Linked DNA regions of Homo sapiens: all the other regions are linked to region 1. Evidence: promoter capture Hi-C in 16 types of primary human blood cells and fetal thymus (Javierre and others, 2016). All regions are on one chromosome and are shown on one strand. The core of a region is centred on a gene start or on the middle of the fragment in contact, and the rest is flanking DNA. Distances in the headings are between cores, read along the strand shown.

Region 1 (3,124 bases), core at 264-2,763:
TCCCGGGTTCAAGCGATTCTCCTGCCTCAGCCTCCCGAGTAGCTAAGATTACAGGCATGCCCCACCACACCTGGCTAATTTTGTATTTTTAGTAGAGACAGGGTTTCTCCATGTTGGTCGGGCTGGTCTGGAACTCCCAACCTCAGGTGAACCGCCCACCTCGGCCTCCCAAAGTGCCAGGATTACAGGTGTTTAAGTTACCGCACCCGGCCAATACACATTGATCTACACAAGAGATGCAAAGAAACAGAAAACATGCAAAATATTAACAAATGATCAGTCTACAACAAGGATATATAATAGGTGTTCAATATTCTGGCCTTTCACATTTTCTTTGGTTTAGAATATTCAATCTACAGATAGCCTGGGCAACAAACCAAGACCCTGTCTTTAAAACGTAAATAAATAAATAAAAATATATGAGGGGGAAGGCCAGGCGCGGTGGCTTATACCTGTAATTCCAGCACTTTGGGAGTCCGAGGAGGGTGGATCACGAGGTCAGGAGTTCGAGACCAGCCCAACCAACATGGTGAAACCCCGTCTCTACTAAAAATGCAAAATTAGCCGGGCGTGGTGGCACATGCCTGTAATCCCAGTTACTCAGCATGCTGAGGCAGGAGAATCGCTTGGACCGGGAGACAGAGTTTACAGTGAGCCTATATCACGCCATTGCACTCCAGCCTGGGCAATAAGAGCGAAACTCCGTCTCAAAATATGTATATATACGAGAGGAAAAACGCTGAATCAAAACATGTCTCTTTCACAGTTAATACAACTGTAATTTCTGATACTGGTATAATGAAGGCGGCATCCTACTTCCTGGAAGCCCCTCCGTTTTGAAGCTCTTTGGGAGGTACTGACCTAGGAAGTTCAGCTGCTTTTGATCTCAAAAACACAGCGGAGTATTGCTACTTTGCTTTATAACTGTGGCAATATTTGCTTTTATTTCTATAAACCTACAACTCCTGCACACTTGACAAAGCATTTAACTGCTGAGCAATTTCGCAAACTTCAATAAGCGATGCCCTCCCACAGCCAGATCATCTCCTCCGTCCAGGGCTCACCGGAACGCACTGCAATCGCCCTGTCGGTGACAAGAGGACGCTGGGGCCCTTTTCCACAACAGCTGAGATGCTTTTCCTTCTGGAGAAAGGACACAAAGGTTGACTGGCTGCTTTTAAACAGAGGGGCACGGTGGTTGGAGAAAAAAACACGTCTCCACCGGGGACCCTGGGCCAGGCCCAGACTGATGCGGGCGCAGCGGGAAGAGGCGCTCAGAAGAGAAGGCGGGAACCCCCCGCCTCGGGGTCCTGGCGGGGAGGAGGCGCCGCTTCTCCGGAGCAGCAGCGGGAGGCCGGCGCGTCTCAGACCTAGCAGAAGTCCGGAGCGTCACCCTCCGACCCTCGCTCCGCCTCCCGCTAGGCCCTCCTGCCCCGCCCTGCCTAGGTTGAGCATGAGCGCTGGCTGAGGTGAAAACCCAGCTAGGAAGCTGCTGGAGAGCGGGGAATACGTATAGCTGCGCGCCGGCTGGCACTTCCGCTTCCGGTTGCGCACGGCATTAAGTGTAGGGGCCGAGCCCCAAGAGCTTTGGAATGAGGATGATGTGAAGCTGAGAGAAGAGCTGGGGCCACCTCTTCGACACGCGTACAGAAAAGTCCCGTTTTCTCGCATCCCAGGTGGACCAGGATCCAGATCAATCTGTCGATATTGGGAACGACGCCGGACCAGGAAACCCAGCGCCAAGGGCCGGGTTGGAGGCGGGGACTGGCGCAGCGGGCGGGGCACGCGTGGAGGCGTCACCTAAGGCTTCGATTGCAGACAGCGGGATGCTCATCGAGTGCTTTTCTTTTCTTTTTTAATTTCTCTTTTTAGTTTTTTGAGATAAGGCTCCGGTCTGTCGCCTAGGCTGGAGTGCAGTGGCTCGGTCATAGATCATTGCAGCCTGGAATTCCTGCGCTGAAGCTATCCTCCCGCCTCGGCCTCCGGAGTAGCTTGGACCACAGTTGGGCCCATCACGCCCAGCTAAGTTATCTTTTTCTAGACACTTGGGTCTCACTGTGTTCCCTAGGCTGGTCTCGAACTCCTGAGCCTAAAGGATCCTCCCCCCTCGGCCTCCCAAGCAGCTTGGACCACAGGTGTGTGCCACCACGCCTGGCTAATTTATTTTTATTTTATTTTTATTTTTTTGTAGAGACAGGGTCTCTCTTTGTTACCCAGGCTGATCTGGAACTCCTGGGCTCCAGTGATCCTTCCACCTTGGCCTCCCAAAGTGCTGGGATTATAGGCGTGAGCCACCACCCTAGGGAAATTCTTTTCTGCAGGATTTTCTCCTTGTTTCTTCAACCCTCTGCAGGGATATAAACATATTTACAAAGATAATCCCGCTGTAGTCCTAGCTACTGCGGGAGAATCGCTTGAGCCCAGGAGTTCGAGACCAGCGACACCCTGTTTGAAAGATTAACCTGATGGGGCTGGGGGCAGTGGCTCACGCCTGTAATCCCAGCACTTTGGGAAGCCGAGGCGGGTGGAACACGTGAGTTCAGGAGTTCGAGACCAGCCTGGCCAACATGCCGAAACCCCATCTCTACTAAAAATATTTTTTAAAAAATAGCCGGGTGTGGTGGTGGGCGCCTGTAATCCCAGCTACTCGAGAGGCTGAGGCAGGAGAATTGCTTGAACCTAGGAGACTGAGGTTGCAGTGAGCTGATACGATGCCACAGTACTCCAGCCTGGGCGACAGAGTGAGACTCCGTCTCAAAAAAAAAAAAAAAAAGATTAACCTGTTAATCCATAAAATGCTCTGTGCCTCTGATACATTCAGTTCCTTCTTTAGGCCTTTAGTTTTGTTGTGATACAATTATCATAGCATACAATTAACCTGTTTAAAGTGTACAGTTTCGTGGCTTTTTGTATATTCATATATTTGTGCATCGATCATCACAATCAATTTTAGAACATTTTCATGACCACAAAAATAAACCCAGTACCCTAGCCATGATCACCCAATCTGCTCATCCAGCCCCACCCCCACCCCCAGAGTCCAAAGCAACAGCTAATCTTTCTGTCTGTATAGATTGCCTACTGTAGATATTGCCTGTAGAATTAGAATATAAAACACGTGGTG
Region 2 (3,124 bases), core at 406-2,905, 940 kb before region 1:
AGCAATCATCTGATTCCTAAACTACCTCCAAACACCCCCTCTTTTGCCTCTTAAATGTCTTCCTTCTGAATCCTGAAGTCCTTGTTATCTGCATGCTTACACTACATGCAAATTGCATCACCCTCTGGCCCACAACTCTTTAGTGTCTTCCCACTGGCCTGAGAACAGAGTCTGAAGTGAGGCCTAGTATGGTTCTGCCTCCCTCTTGATCTTGGTCTTGGTCACACTTCTTTCCCTATTCTTTTTTTTTTTTTTTTTTTTTTTTGAGGAGTCTCACTCTTACACCCAGGCTGAATGCAGTGGTGCAATCTCTGCTCACTGCAACCTCAGCCTCCCAGGTTCAAGCAATTCTCTTGTCTCAGCCTCCCGAGCAGCTGGGACTACAGGTGTGCACCACCACACCCAGCTAATTTTCGTATTTTTAGTAGAGACGGGGTTTCACCATGTTGGCCAGGCTGGTCTTGAACTTCTGACATCAGGTGATCAGCCCACCTTGGTCTCCTAAAGTGCTGGGATTACAGGTGTGAGCCACTGCGCCCAGCTTCTTTCCCTGTTCTTGTCTCGGCTTCAGCCATCCCTGTGTTCCCAGTGCAGGGAGCGTGGCAGCCTCTCTCCTGCTGCAGGGCCTTTCCTTACACAGCTTCTTCGACGGCAGTGCTCTCTTGGACATAACCCTGTCCCCTCACTCTAGTCGAGCCCTATGACTAGCTACATCTGACCCCAACTTGGAGATGGAGCAGCAATTCCCTTTTTCAGGGGCCTGTGAACCCCAAGTGGGAAAATAAAGGAAAATCCTGAAGTTCCTTTAAGGGAAATTCCGAGCATCCAGCTAGCCCCAAAAGTAAATATGGAACTTGTTAAACAGGAAGGTAATAGTAACCTAAAACAACAGCCAAAGAAGTTAAGGCTCCAGAGATGTTCGCTTTCCCCATGGAAACTAAAGATAACATCTTAACATGCGTCCCTGAGTTGCCTTTCAGAGGCTGGGACTCCCACTGAGGACCCCACCAAATGGAGCTGCTGGCTCAGAGACCCCAGATAAGCGGGACATGAAGGCTGAGCTTCAGCGTTCTTTGTGCTAAGTTTCTTCTTGAGGGGCTTGGAGAAAGTCACTTCTCCCAGCCAGTTAACATTTTCCTACTGACTCTAAATTTTTAAACAAAGCTTCTTTTCTTTAACCAATTACAAATCAGAAAAATCTTTGAATCTACCTATGACAAGCTCCTGCTTCAAGACATCCTTGCCCTTTTAAGTCTAAACCAGTGTGTAACCTCCATGTATTGCTTTATGATTTTGCCTGTAGCTTCTGCTTTTCTGTAACTTACCATTGCCTTCAGAAATCCTTGCCTAGCCGGGCACGGTGGCTCATGTCTGTAATCCCAGCACTTTGGGAGGCCTAGGCAGGCGGATCACCTGAGGTCAGGAGTTTGAGGCCAACCTGGCTAACATGGTGAAACTCTGTCTCTACTCAAAATACAAAAAATTTGCCAGGTGTGGTGGTATGTGCCTGTAATCCTAGGGACTGGGGAGGCTGAGGCAGGAAAATCACTTGAACCTGGGAGGCAGACGTTGCAGTGAGCTGAGATCGTGCCATTGCACTCCAGCCTGGGTGACCAAGTGAGATTCTGTCTCATTAAAAAAAAAAAAAAGGCCGGGTGTGGTGGCTCATGCCTGTATCATCTCAGCACTTTGGGAGGCTGAGGCGGGTGGATCACGAAGTCAGGAGATTAAGACCAGCCGGGCCAACATGGTGAAACCCCGTCTCTACTGAAAATACAAAAATTAACCGGGCATGGTGGTAGGCGCCTGTAATCCCAGCTACTCAGGAGGCTGCGGCAGAACTGCTTGAACCCGGGAGGCCGGGGGTTGCAGTGAGCTGAGATTGCAACACAGTACTCCAGCCTGGGTAACAGAGTGAGACTCCATCTCAAAAAAAAAAAAATTCCTTGCCTAAAAGCCACTGGGGAGGCCAGGATTTGAACATTTAATGTCTGGTCCTCCTTGCTTAGTGCTGTGCAATAAAAGCCTTTCTATCTATCGTAGCAACCCTCAATATAGACATCTGGTTTCACTGCACCACCAGGTGAGCAGACCCCAGTTTGGTTCTGTAACAACTTAAGCTCTCAAGCTAAATATCCTTCCCAAGAAAGCTTCCCTGTTCCCTCTGATCAAGTTCACTAGTGCCAAGCTCCCACATCACTCCTGTCATTCATGGTTTAAAATTTATCTTCCCTGTTAGAAGGTAAACTTTATGTAGGACAGGGGCCATTTCAGGTCCTCCAGGGTCCCTGTGCATCTGACCTAGGACCTGACTCATGGAGGCGACCTGGTTTGCCAAGGATTGTCCCGGTTTGAACACTGGATGCCCTGTGCCCTAGCAAACCCCTTGGTCCTGAAAAAATGAGGATGGTTGGTCACCATTAACTGTGCACTCAAATAATATCTATTGCATGATAAGTAAACATTCCTTCAAGAATGCTGTAGGAAAGCTAGAATGGAAAAGGTGAACACACACACAATTAGTAGAAACCCCACAATTTAATACTAGATTACTTAACATGATTCTCTGCAATATGAATCACCATACTGTTATTTCAGAGAAGTTTTAAGAAACAAAGTTAATTCCTATTAGGAGGTGATATCGTTGGCTCTGTGTCCCCCCACCCAAATCTCATCTCGAGTTGTAATAATCCCTATGTGTCAGAGGAGGGTCCTGGTAGGAGGTGACTGAATCATGGGGGCGGACTTCCCCCTTGCTGTTCTCCTGATAGTAAGTTCCCACAAGATCTGATGGTTTAGAAGTTTGGCGTTTATGTCTTCTCTCTCTCTCCTGCTGCCATGTAAGACGTGCCTTGCTTTCCCTTTGCTTTCTGCCATGATCGTAAGTTTCCTGAGGCCTCCCCCGCCATGCAGAACTGAGTCAATTAAACTTCTTTCCTTTGTAAGTCACTCAGTCTCAGGGAGTTATTTATAGCAGTGTGAAAACTCTCAGGTAGTTCTTTATAGCAGTGTGAAAAAGGACTAATACAGGAGGCAAGGTGCAGAGGACAATCTTTTTGGAAACCAGTTCCCTACCCTTCAATCTATAAGTTGTTGCTTAATATTCTTCCAAATGTTTTCAAAT
Region 3 (3,124 bases), core at 276-2,775, 640 kb before region 1:
TACAGGCATCAGCCACCGTGCCTGACTGCAGTAGCCATTATTTTATTCTGATTTTATGAGATCAGCTCTTTTGGATTCTACACATGGTTGAGATCATGCAGTATTTGTCTTTCTGTACCTGGCTTATTTCACTTAGCATAATGTTCTCCAGGTTCCTCCATGTTGTGGCGAATGACAGAATTTCCTTCTTTTTAAAGGGTGCATAGTACTCTATCATATACCACATTTTCTTTTTCTTTTCCAGACAAAGTCTCACTCTGTTGCCCAGGCTAGAGTGCAGTGGTGCGATCTCGGCTCACTGCAACCTCCGCCTCCTGGGTTCAAGTGATTCTCCTGCCTCAGCCTCCTGAGTAGCTGGGATTACAGGCATACGTCATCATGCCTGGCTAATTTTTGTATTTTTAGTGGAGACACGGTTTCACCATGTTGGCCAGGCTAGTCTTGAACTCCTGACCTCAAGTAATCTACCTACCTCAGGCTCCCAAAGTGCTGGGATTACAGGCGTGAGCCACCGTGCCTGCCATACCACATTTTCTTTATCCACTTATATGTTGATGGACATTCAGGTTGATTACATTTCCTGGCTATTGTGACTAATACTGCAATGAACATGAGAGTGCAGATATCTCTTCAGCATATTGATTTCAATTCCTTTGAAATTCAACAGCACAAACATAAATCAATATAACTATAGATAGTCAACCTAAATAACAGAAAGAGGCTATCTAAAAGAAAATGATGTTTATTGCCAAAGAAAGCATTGCAATAGCGATACGCGTGCCATCATAAACTATGTATGCATTCAAGGAGGTAAAGGAAGACAAAGTTTTTTAATGGAAAAATGAGGAAGGTTACATAATTGTTTTGAAATAATTATCCTTCACAGTAATAACTAATAACAAGGGTGATGCCAGTCTGAAGCTGGACAGGCAGTTGCTGGGCAGATGTACTTGCAGAAATATTTTTTGTGTAAGGTTGCAACAGCCTTTTGTGCAAGGTTGTGGTTTTTGTCGTCTCGTGATAGTTTTTGTCGTCTCGTGATAGTTTTTGTAGTCTTGTGATAGTTTTTGTTATTAGGCATGCAAGTGAAATAAATCTCTTCATGGCCTTCCCTAGCTTTACTTGTCAGGATGTTTTTGTTTTTTTCATTTTTGTTTGTTTGTTTGTTTTTCATGAGATGGAGTCTTGCTCTGTCGCCCAGGCTGGAATGCAGTGGTGCGATCTTGGCTCACTGCAACCTCCGCCTCCCAGGTTCAAGCGATTCTCATGCCTCAGCCTCCTGAGTAGCTGGGATTACAGATATGCGCCACAACGTCTGGCTAATTTTTGTATTTTTCATAGAGATGGGGTTTCACCATGTTGGCCAGGCTGGTCTCGAACTCCTGACCTTGTGATCCGCCCACTTCAGCCTATCAAAGTGCAGACTTTTTTGATAGCCGCTACACCCAGCCTTTTTTTTTTTTAATAAGTGACTCCATTTTGATTCTGACAATTTTAACAATATATATACCAAGTACAGTCAGCCTTCCATATCTGCCAGTACCACATTCATGGACTCAACCAACTGTGGATCAAAAATATTAAAAATATTAAAGAAAATTTTAAAAATATTAAATAAGAATATTACAAAAATACAATATTAAGTAATACAACTATTTACATAGGATTAACATTATGCTAGGTAATATAAGTAATCTAGAAATGATTTAAAGTATAGGCGACCTGGGCACAGTGGCTCACACTGCTTAATCCCAGCACTTTGGAAGGCTGAGGCAGAAGGATTGTTTGAGGCCAGGAGTTTGAGGCTGCAGTGAGTTATAATCACACCACTGTAGTTCAACCTCGGCAACAGAGCAAGGCTCTCTCTAAAAAAGAAATTAATCATTTAATATTAAAATTAAAAATTAATTACTTGATTTTTAAATTGTAAATAAATTACTTAATTTTTAAATTAAAAATAAATTAGCTAGCTGGGCATGGTGGCTCATGCCTGTAATCCCAGCACTTTGGGAGGCTGAGGCGGGCAGATTACCTGAGGTCAGGAGTTCAAGGCCCGCCTGGCCAACATGGTGAAACTCTGTCTCTACTAAAAATACAAAAATGAGCCAGGCACAGTAGCAGGCGCCTGTAATCCCAGCTATTCAGGAGGCTGAGGCAGGAGAATCGCTTGAGCCCCAGAGGTGGAGGTTGCAGTAAGCCGAAATTGAGCCACTGCACTCTAGACTGGGCGACAGAGCAAGACTCTGTCTCAATAAATAAATAAATAAATAAATAAATAAATAAGTTTTTAAATTTTTAATTAAATTTAATTTTTTTTAAAAAAAGACTTAGTATTGGATAGACCAGTAGGGTGACTATAGTTCAAAATAATCCATTGTATATTTCAAAATACCTAGAAGAGAACAATTGGAATGGTTGGAGCATAAAGATAAGACAAATATTTAAGGTGATGGATATCTAAAGTAACAAATCCTTGCAGATTATACAAATGTATTACACTATCACATGCATCCTGAAACAATGTACATCTCTTATGCATTGATACAAAAATTTAAAAAAAGCCAGGTGTGGTGGCATGCACCTGCAGTCTCAGCTACTCGTCAGGCTGAGTCCAGAGGATCGCTTTAGCCCAGGAATTCGAGGCAGCAGTGAGCTGTGATCACACCACTGCACTCCAGCCTGGGCAACAAAGTGAGAGACTGTCTCAAAAATCAATTAGTCAGTCAATCAATCCAAAAAGAACTCAAGTCCACGTGGTCCGATTCCAAAACTATCACCCTGAACCATCTGATCTCTGGTCTCATGTATTCAAAGACATTGGTCAGGTGGGGCACAGTGGCTCATGCCTGTAATCCCAGCACTTTGGGAGGCTGAGACGGGCAGATCACCTGAGGTCAGGAGTTCGAGACCATCCTGGCCAATGTGGTGAAACCCCGTCTCTATTAAAAATAGAAAAATTAGCTGGGCTTGGTGGCACGTGCCTGTAATCCCAGCTACTCCGGAGGCTGAAGCAGGAGAATCGCTTGAACCCAGGAGGCGGAGGTTGCAGTGAGCCAAGATTGCGTCACTACACTCCAGTCTGGTCAACAGAGCGAGACTCCATCTCAAAAAACAAACAAACAAA
Region 4 (3,124 bases), core at 300-2,799, 620 kb before region 1:
CAGGGAGCGGAGAGTGGCACCCACTATAAATGAACAATTCTGTTAAGTAATTGTGAAATCGTCAGTGGTCATTTTATTTTAATGATAATGGCATTTTAGAGTGAATGTTTGTTTACTGAGCCTATAGAGTTCCATACATAACCCAGTGTTAAAGTCTTCAGTTTCCAGATGAGAAAACTGAGTTTTGATGAACTGACTCTTGGGAGGGGAATGAGCAGAACTGTGGGCTTGCATTAAAGGGGAGTCTACTGAGGCCTCAGGGACAGGGAGACCTTCACAGAAGTGCAATCAGAACCTGGGTGTCAGCACCTCCAAATGGTGGGGGTGTTTCACAATGTGGACCTGTGGGAGATGGGGGAGAGGGGCCCAGGGGAACCCTGACCTTTAGGGGCTGGGCAGAGGAGGGATCTCAAGCCAGAGTCTTCAAAAGAGCAACCAGAGATGTGAGCACAGACTGGGATGAGTGGGCTATGGCTGCAAGAGCAGTGGCATTCCCAGGAAGAGGGAGATAGATTCATAGTGAGCAAGATGATGTGTCAGGAGGTCAGGCAAAGGAAGGGTCAAGATGTAGTGTCAAGGAGTTCCCACATAGGGGACAGTACAGGTGACATAGGTCACTTTGAGAGGCAACAAGATGTGGCTCCGCAGTCACGTCAGCTGGGCTCACAACTTCCACCTATGACCTTGACCAAGTGTCTCGGACCCTTGGTGCCTTATTCTCTGGGTACTTGAGAATAATTCCGGGAGGTTGTGAGGATTAAATAGGAGTGGCCCTGGAAAGACTCAGGAGAATGTCTCATACCTTGTAAACACTACACATGTCGTTATTTGTAGAATTGGCATTAATGTTGGTGGGGAAAGGTGGAATGGGACCTGCAGAAGCTTGTTAGTTGAGCATGAATGAATGAATGGTAGGTGAGGATGGAGATACTGTGCCTCAGGAACTGAGCCTCTGTCACCCTCTCTCCCCTTCCTCAGCAGTGACTTAATGTCAGAACCCAAAGGCACAATGACTAGAAAAGGGCTTTGTAAAAAGAATGAAAGCGTCATGCATCTTTGAGTTGGCCCAAGATCAAATTTGGTGTTGAATAATGAATCCCCAAGGCAGAGTTTATACGTTAAAACACACTTCCTATATTATTGTTTTGAAATGTTTCTGAATATCTAAAACAATTCCAATAGCAGAAATACTAATTGATGTTGAAAAAGATTGTTATAACCCTGGTAATGTTTAAAAGTGGTAATATTGATTATTGATCTGAGTCAGATGTTAAAGTAGCAGCGTCACGGTTCTTACATCAGTGCTGTCATGAGAGTCGCGGTGGAAGCCAGAGAGAGGAGGCATGTTCATACAAAGCAAATTAAATCCCCTCCCGAGGTGTGGGCCACCATACCTCACCAATGTATTGTGGTTTTGATGTTATTTCCTTAATGACTGATGTTGTTAATCATCTTTTCATGTGTTTACAGTTCATTTCTGTAAATTTGGAGAAATGTCTGTTCTGTTCAAGTCTCCTGCCCACTTTTTTACTGGGTTGTCTTTGTTGTTGAGTTTATAATGATATTAAATCCCTATCACATACATGATTTGCAAATATTTTCCACCATTCTGTGTCTCATTCACTTTCTTGATAATGTCCTTGATGTTAATTCTAAATGTTTGGTAGGGTTCACCAGTGAAGCCCCTTGGTCCTGGACTTTTTTTTTTTTTTTTTGAGACGGAGTCTTGCTCTGTCGCCCAGGCTGGAGTGCAGTGGCGCAATCTCGGCTCACTGCAAGCTCCGCCTCCCAGGTTCACACCATTCTCCTGCCTCAGCCTCCCGAGTAGCTGGGACTACAGGCACTCATCACCACGCCTGGCTAATTTTTTGTATTTTTAGTAGAGATGGGGTTTTACCGTGTTAGCCAGGATGGTCTCGATCTCCTGACCTCCTGATCCACCCGCCTCGGCCTCCCAAAATGCTGGGATTACAGGCGTGAGCCACCGTGCCCAGCTGGTCCTGGACTTTTTATTTAATGGCTTTTGATGACTGCCTCAGTCTCTTGTTATAGGTCTCTCAATTTTCTTTTTCTTCTAGAGCCTGTTTGGGTATGTTTCAAGGAATTTGATACATCTAGAGCATTGATCCCCAAGCCCTGGGCCACAGACAGGTACCGGTCCCTGGCCTTTTAGGAACAAGGCCCTGCCGCAGGAGGTGAGCGGAGGGCAAGTGAGTGAAGCTTCATCTGTATTTACAGCGGCTCCCCATCACTCACATTACCCCTGAACTCCACCTCCTGTCAGATCATCAGCAGCATTAGATTCTCATAGGGGCGCAGACCCTATTGTGCACTGCACATGCAAGGGATCTAGATTGCACACTCCTTATGAAAATCTAATGCCTGATGATCTGTCAGTGTCTCCCATCACCTCCAGATGGGACCATCTAGTTTCAGGAAAACACTCTCAGGGCTTCCACTAATTCTATATTATGGTGAGTTGTATAATTATTTTACCATATATTACAATGTAATAATAATAGAAATAAAGTGCACAATAAATGTAATGCACTCAAGTCATCCCAAAACCATCCCCCCTCACCTCACCATCCATGGAAAAATTGTCTTCCATGACACCAGTCTCTGATGCCAAATTGGGTGGGGACTGCTAGTGTAGATGATCTAATGTGTTGGTGCATAATTGTTCATGGCATTCTCTTACAGCCCTTTGAATTTCCGTAAGGTCGGTAGTAATGTCCCACTTCCACTGATGATTTTAGTTACTTGCATCTTTTTTTGTTAGTAATTCTAGCTGTAGTTTTGTCACCTTTGTTGATCTTTTTGAAAGAACCAACTTTTGTTTTCATTAATTCTCCTATTCTCTATTTCATTTGTCTCTGCTTTAATCTTTATTTCTTCACTTTTGCTTTCCCTAGGTTTAGTGTGTCAAGGTAGTTGTTTTTGTTTGTTTGTTTGTTTGTTTGTTTGTTTGAGACTGAGTCTCGCTCTCTCACCCAGGCTAGAGTGTGATGGCACGATCTCAGCTTACCTCAACCTCCGCCTCCCGGGTTCAAGCGATTCTCCTGCCTCAGCCTCCCGAGTAGCTGGGATTACAGGCATGCACCACCATGCCCAGCTAATTCTT
Region 5 (3,124 bases), core at 355-2,854, 590 kb before region 1:
GATTGTGCCACTGCACTCCAGCCTAGGTGACAGAGTAAGACCCTGACAAAAAAGAAGAAAGAAAAAAAAAGAGAGAGGAGAGAGAGAGAGAAAGAACATTCGGACACATATACAGCATACATGAACCTTGGCAATATTTCACTTAAATGAAATAAGTCAGTCACAAAAAGACAAACAGTGTATACTTCCGTCTATGAAGTAGGTACCACAGTCAGAATTATAGAGACAGAAAGTGGTATGGTGGTTCATTAGGGGCTGGGGAGGGTGAATGAGGGATGAGTGTTACGGGACAGAGTTTCAGCTTGGGGAGATGAGAAGATTCTGAATATGGAGGATAGTGATGGCTGCTGTGAATATACTTAATGCCACTGAATAGTACACTTAAAATGGTTAAGATGGTGAACTGTATGTTATGTATATTTTACCATCATTTTAAAAATTGAAAAAAACTTTTTTCTTATTGTTCAGTTCCTCCCAAACTTGCCATCAATGAAATTTTCCCCATCACTCTACCCAGATCGCTGTTTCTAATGTTTTCCATGCCATTAAATGTGATGGATATTCTTCAGCCTTTATTTTGCTTAGCCTTATAGCATCGTTTTACATGGTTGTTAGAAATAAATCTTGGAGTCATAAAGAAAAATGAGCACTCAAACAAAGGATTTCTCAGCAAAGCAAATTTACTTCTGCGCAGAAGGGTGCTTCTCGTAGGGTTGGCTGCTACAAGAGCACCCTGAACAAAGGAGAGTAGCAACTTTTATTCTTAATGCGACTCTTGACTTTGTGTGTCCTTTCCCCATTGGCTGGGGTCGGACAGCACAATCTAAACTAGACTTGATTGGTTACACATTTAAACTGTCTTAGATAAGGTGGGTGTGTGATGGGAGACAGAGGAGAGGAGGAAGGGGTCTTCTACAGAGGAATAGACAGCTAGTCTATTCTTAAATAAGGAAAGAAATGTGAGCTGGGGCTATGGCATATCTGGGCATGCAGCAAAATCAGAAAGAAGAAAAGGAGAAGAAAGTGTGTGGGGGGGGTACTTGGAATTAGAGAATAAGAAGCTGAGCAGGCTGTTTGAAGAGAAATCTTGCTGTATCTCGCAATGGTTGACTCTCCCTCTCTTGAAACAGGACTTACGACATGTCCACAGCCTGTTTAACGCCCTGCAGCCAACGCGATCACAGGGGATTCACGGAAATAGTTGCATCTCTATTTTCTTCTGTGTTACCTTGAGACCCTTAGGCACTGGGATTACAGAGAGATGGGTCTTTGTAGCTTCTGCGACACATTCCAGAGGGGAAAACCTCTTTATCTCAAAGCCAAACCAATAGTGATGAAAGCTCTTCCAAGAATAAAGAGGCCCCAAGAGGGTGGGAGGTGCAGAGAGAGTCACCTGGCTTCAGAGCTGCCTTCTTGGAAACAGAATTAGAACACATCATACCTTTCTGCCATTTGCTCTTGATCCCAAGGGAGCCGAATGGGTTGGAGAGTAGAACATCACTGGAACAGTGGATTTAATGAGGAAGGATGAGACATCAGCTCCCTGGGGCTTGAGAAACCATAAATACTTCCCTAAAACACCTCACCTGGACAGTTTCCTGACGCCACACTCATGCATCTTAGAGAGGAGAGTTAGGATGACTTCATGACAAGTTCCATCTCCCCGCCTTTCCCTGCTAGATTCTGTCTTCAGCATTCAACAGTCAGGGGAGGAAGACGTCATACCAGCATTTTTTTTTTTCAAGCAATGTCAGTTGAGTGACTCACACTATCCTTGTTAGTACCGTGTGTGAAAAGGATTTAAAAAGTAGTGTGGGGAGGAACAGAGATGGAGGTAACAGGGTTGATAATGTCTCATGATTTTTAAAATGTCTCTAGGATTCCCTTACCTGGTTATAGATGTCTTAAGGCATTGCAACTTTTGGGAGGCTGAGGCAGGCGGATCGCTTGAGGCCAGGAGTCTAAGACAAGCCTGGCCAACTTGGTGAAACCCCATCTCATCTAAAAATACAAAAATTAGCTGGGCATGGTGGCGGATGCCTGTAATCCCAGCTACTCGGGAGCCTGAGTCAGGAGAATGGCTTGAACCCGGGAGACAGAGGTTGCCATGAGCCAAGATCACGCCACTGCACTCCAGCCTGGGTGACAGAGTGAGTGAGACGCTGTCTCAAAAAAAAAAAAAGATTCTATTGCAACTGTTTCTGTCACCTCCACCTCTGATGGCCTTTCATTCTGGAAACTAGTGACTTTCTCAATGTCAGTAGGAACTGGCACTTCCTTGAGTGGATTCCTTTCAGTCTACCTGCTAACACCTTCCTTTTTCTTCTCTAGTATAATATAATAGTTCTCGGCCGGGTGCAGTGGCTCATGCCTATAATCCCAGAACTTTAGGAGGCCGAGGCGGGTGGATCACAAGGTCAAGAGATCGAGACCATCCTGGCCAACATGGTGAAACCCTGTCTCTACTAAAAATACAAAATTAGCCGGGCATGGTGGTGTGTGCCTGTAGTCCCAGCCATTTGGGAGGCTGAGGCAGGGGAATTTCTTGAACCTGGGAGGCAGAGGTTGCAGTGAGCTGAGATTGCACCATTGCACTTCAGCCTGGGCAACAAGAACAAAACTCCGTCTAAAAAAAAAAAAATCAACAAAGCAAAGCAAAACAAAACAAGTATGTATTAAATGTTCACTCTGCACCAGATGTTACATATATTATCATTGCAATTGTGAATGGACTTTTTTTCCTCTTATTTTTTCTCATGGCTGTTTGCAGATACATAAGAAAGCTGATGACACTGATTAGTTGTAATTAATTGTGTTTAAGTTGACTTTTTTTTTTTTTGAGACAGGGTCTTTCTGGGCTCAAGCAAACCTCCTGCCTTGGCCTCCCAAGTAGCTAATTTTTTAAAAATCTATTTTTGTAGAGGCAAGTGTCTCATTTTGTTGTCTAGGCTGGTCTCAAACTCCTGGCCTCAAGAATTTCTCCTGCCTTAGCCTCTCAAAGTGCTGGGATTACAGGCAGGAGTCACAGCACCCAGCCAGGCTGTTACATTTTATTAAATGAATTTTAGCTTATGTTAAAACCATGGTTTCTTTTTCTGCCTTGCTCTATTCACGCATATACTTT
Region 6 (3,124 bases), core at 463-2,962, 570 kb before region 1:
GATGATGGTGGTGATGGTTGCTAAACAATACAAATGTACTTAATGTCATTAAACTGTAAACTTAAAAATAGTGGAAATTGTTTATATTGACCCTTCTATATAAAATAATATATATTTATACTTTTTAATATTTACACATGGTATATTTTACCACAATAAAAGATGAAAATTGAAGCATTTGGATCTTTACAAAGAAAAGAAAAAAGTGAATAATACACACAAGCTTTCTCCTGATTAGAGGAAGAGCCCAAAAGCTTCTATGGACACTCATTTTTCTCTTCTTCTTCCTGAATTATTATGAGGAAGTCCTTAGAGATTGGGGAACTTGGGCCAATTTGGCTAATGAGGAGCTCTGTGCCTTGAGCCCCCAAGGCCATAGCATAGTGAATACTCAGCCTGTGCCTCCAGCCCTGCAGTGTGAGCTTCCAGTCCAGTGGGCTCCACACCTGTCGTCTGCATCAGGAGGCTCATGTCTGACCCTGTCTTCCTGCCAGTCCTGAGGACGGAGCCTGAGCCTCCATCGTGCACCACGCAGGGAGGACAGCGGACCTGCTCTCCATGATCATGGCCCAGCAGAGGGGAAGCGCAGCTCAGTGAGTGCTGAGGGATGGTCGGGAGCCTTCTTTCCTCATCCTCAGGACAAACAGGACAGTGGAGTGGCAGATAGGAGGACATCAATGTGCAAAATATCAGCTCAGACAACTGTGGAGTTTATGTTCTTGATTGTGGTGGGGACTCTGAAATCTCACTCAAAGTTTTACTTTCTCCCTCCACTGGTTCTACTTGCTATAGACATCTCACTGAAGCTAGGAAAAAATAGGTCTCTCTAAGCTATTCCATGAACACTGTAAAAGGATTATGAAGCTGATGATGAGGATGAGGAGGAAGAGGACAGTCACTATGACATCATGAACTTTTCCTGAGGGCTTCCTGAATGCCAGGCGCCCAGTTCTGTGTTCTATGTGGTTTGTTTCATTTTATCTGCATAGCCTTCTGCAATCCATAAGTGCACACATTATTATTATTTTGCACGAGGAAAGGAGCTGTGCATTTTTATGTAACTTGTAGTATTTCATGAAGTAGAGAGGAGTAAAGCCATGTTTGAATCAGGCCATCTAAATCCTTGCACATGGCATTTGGCTAGGCCTCTTCCTGCATCCAACCTGCCCTCTCGAATCCCTGTCACTCTGGACCCCTGGTGTGCTCACTGCTTACCAGTGGGTTCCTGGTAGACCACAGCTAGACCAGTGGGTGCTACGTTCACTGTATCAAGTATAGAAAGGGCAGCTGAGATCACATCAAAGATCCCAGAAAGAACTGGCACAGGATCCTTCAGGGTGCATCTCTCCCTTGCCCCTGTTCCTGGCTTTCCTTGCAGCTCTCCACCTCCTGAAAGGAGAAATAAAATCAGAGTTTTGGCCTCATTCCTACTCAGGAATCTGGAAACAGTTTGAAAATGCACCTCCGATGTGCCTGTGGTTAAGACCTCTTACCTCTGCTTACAACTTTCTGATAGCTGGGAAACATAAAAAAGGTTCATGCCTGAGACTCAGAGACTGATCATTTATTAGGTTGGTGACAACAGTAATGGCAAAAACCTCAATTACTTTTGCATCAACCTATAATTTTTTTAAAATCCTGTTATTCCACTTATCTGTGTGGCAGGGGGCAAGATGTTAGTGTTTCTGAGACTCAACATTGCCACCTGAGTTGATTTCTAGTTGACACAGATACATTCAGTATTGATTAAGCAGATCATGGGGGCTCCCTGTGGGATCTATTTGTGATGGATGCATAAAGTAAAGGCAACGTGTATTCTAGAAATTGTTATTAATATTTTAAGATTAATCTTTATATCACTCAACTGAAATATCCTGTGACCTGAAGTTACTGTTTCTGTACTTCCCACAGGACATTTTATTTTTGTCCTTATATAATTAAGTACTGATTATTGTGACAGAAACAACTGAGTCTCTTTCATCTCTAATTCTCCAGAGTCTCTAACCTGCTTGACACAGAGGAGGCATCAGAAATAAAAATCTCTTTTAAGAGAAATGCAGGTCAGGCGCATTGGCTCATGCCTGTAATCCCAGCACTTTGGGAGGCTGAGGCGGGTGGATCACTTGAGGTCAGGAGTTTGAGACCAGCCTGGCCAACATGGTGAAACCCCATCTCTACTGAAAATACAAAAATTAGCTGGGCATGGTGGTGGGCACCTGTAATCCCAGCTACTCAGGAGGCTGAGGCAGGAGAATCACTTGAACCTGGGAGACAGAGGTTGCAGTGAACTGAGATCGTGCCTCTGCACTCCAGCCTGGGTGACAGAGCAAGACTCCATCTCAAAAAAAAAAAAAGAGAGAGAGAGAAATGCAAATCGAAACTACAAGGAGATATCATCTCACCCCATTTAGAATGGCTTTTATCAAAAAGTCAGGCAATAGCAAATGCTCACAAGGATGTGGAGAAAGGGGAACAATTGCACACTGTTGGTGGGAATGCAAGTTAGTCCATCCATTATGGAGAACGAGTTGGAGTTTCCTCAAAATACTACAAATAGAGCTACCATAAGATGCAGCAATTCCGGGCCAGGTGCGGTGGCTCATGCCTGTATTCTCAGCACTTTAGGAGGCCAAGGCGGGTGGATCACGAGGTCAGGAGATCGAGACCATCCTGGCTAACATGGTGAAACCCTGTCTCTACTAAAAATACAAAAAATTAGCCGAGCGTGGTGGCGGGCGCCGGTAGTCCCAGCTACTCGGAAGGCTGAGGAAGGAGAATCGCTTGACCTGGGAGGCGGAGGTTGCAGTGAGCCAAGGTCGCGCCACTGCACTCTAGCCTAGGCGACAGAGCGAGATTCCATCTCAAAACAAACAAACAAACAAAAGATACAGCAATTCCATTGCTAAGTATATACCCCCCCATAAGGGAATCCATATATTGAAGAGATATCTGCACTCCCATGTTTATTACAGCACTAGTCACAATAGCCATGATTTGGAAGCAGCTAAGCATTCACCATCCATTCAACATATGAATGGACAAAGAAATTGTGTACATGTGCACAATAGAGCATTATGCAGCCATAAAAAAGGAAGAGATCCTGTCATTTGCAACAACTTGGATG

Evidence for each region. The method cuts DNA at HindIII sites, captures the fragments that hold promoters and counts their contacts. A CHiCAGO score of 5 or more calls a contact.
Region 2: a fragment that was not itself captured here is called in contact with the fragment with the promoter of ZNF846 in region 1 in 2 of 17 cell types (non-activated CD4 T cells and erythroblasts); the score reaches 5.1 in non-activated CD4 T cells.
Region 3: a contact is called between a fragment that was not itself captured here and the fragment with the promoter of ZNF846 in region 1, in 1 of 17 cell types (neutrophils). The highest score is 5.4, in neutrophils.
Region 4: a fragment that was not itself captured here is called in contact with the fragment with the promoter of ZNF846 in region 1 in 16 of 17 cell types (naive CD8 T cells, naive CD4 T cells, fetal thymus and 13 more); the score reaches 10.3 in naive CD8 T cells.
Region 5: the fragment with the promoter of OR7D2 here is called in contact with the fragment with the promoter of ZNF846 in region 1 in 12 of 17 cell types (erythroblasts, total CD4 T cells, naive B cells and 9 more); the score reaches 10.8 in erythroblasts.
Region 6: a fragment that was not itself captured here is called in contact with the fragment with the promoter of ZNF846 in region 1 in 5 of 17 cell types (activated CD4 T cells, naive CD8 T cells, naive CD4 T cells and 2 more); the score reaches 6.1 in activated CD4 T cells.

What each region holds. Positions count from the first base shown.
Region 1 is chr19:9,767,225-9,770,348 of GRCh38, forward strand. It overlaps ZNF846 (zinc finger protein 846), which reads right to left and starts at 1,514. Exons shown (of 6, transcript NM_001077624.3): 1 at 1,065-1,514. RefSeq lists a silencer at 1,329-1,498 and enhancers at 1,442-2,307, 1,579-1,798. The HindIII fragment of the contact is 9,482 bases long and covers 1-3,124 here.
Region 2 is chr19:8,827,331-8,830,454 of GRCh38, forward strand. All of the region lies in intron 2 of ZNF558 (zinc finger protein 558), which reads right to left. Among named protein-coding and RNA genes, the nearest start is that of ZNF558, 3.4 kb to the right of the region's middle. The HindIII fragment of the contact is 986 bases long and covers 1,163-2,148 here.
Region 3 is chr19:9,122,773-9,125,896 of GRCh38, forward strand. No RefSeq gene overlaps it. Among named protein-coding and RNA genes, the nearest start is that of OR7G3, 2.6 kb to the right of the region's middle. The HindIII fragment of the contact is 3,883 bases long and covers 1-3,124 here.
Region 4 is chr19:9,150,210-9,153,333 of GRCh38, forward strand. The region is part of intron 1 of ZNF317 (zinc finger protein 317); the gene reads left to right. Among named protein-coding and RNA genes, the nearest start is that of ZNF317, 11 kb to the left of the region's middle. The HindIII fragment of the contact is 1,338 bases long and covers 881-2,218 here.
Region 5 is chr19:9,177,375-9,180,498 of GRCh38, forward strand. OR7D2 (olfactory receptor family 7 subfamily D member 2) reads left to right here and starts at 1,605. Exons shown (of 3, transcript NM_175883.4): 1 at 1,605-1,749. The HindIII fragment of the contact is 28,883 bases long and covers 1-3,124 here.
Region 6 is chr19:9,197,931-9,201,054 of GRCh38, forward strand. No RefSeq gene overlaps it. Among named protein-coding and RNA genes, the nearest start is that of OR7D4, 20 kb to the right of the region's middle. The HindIII fragment of the contact is 2,921 bases long and covers 253-3,124 here.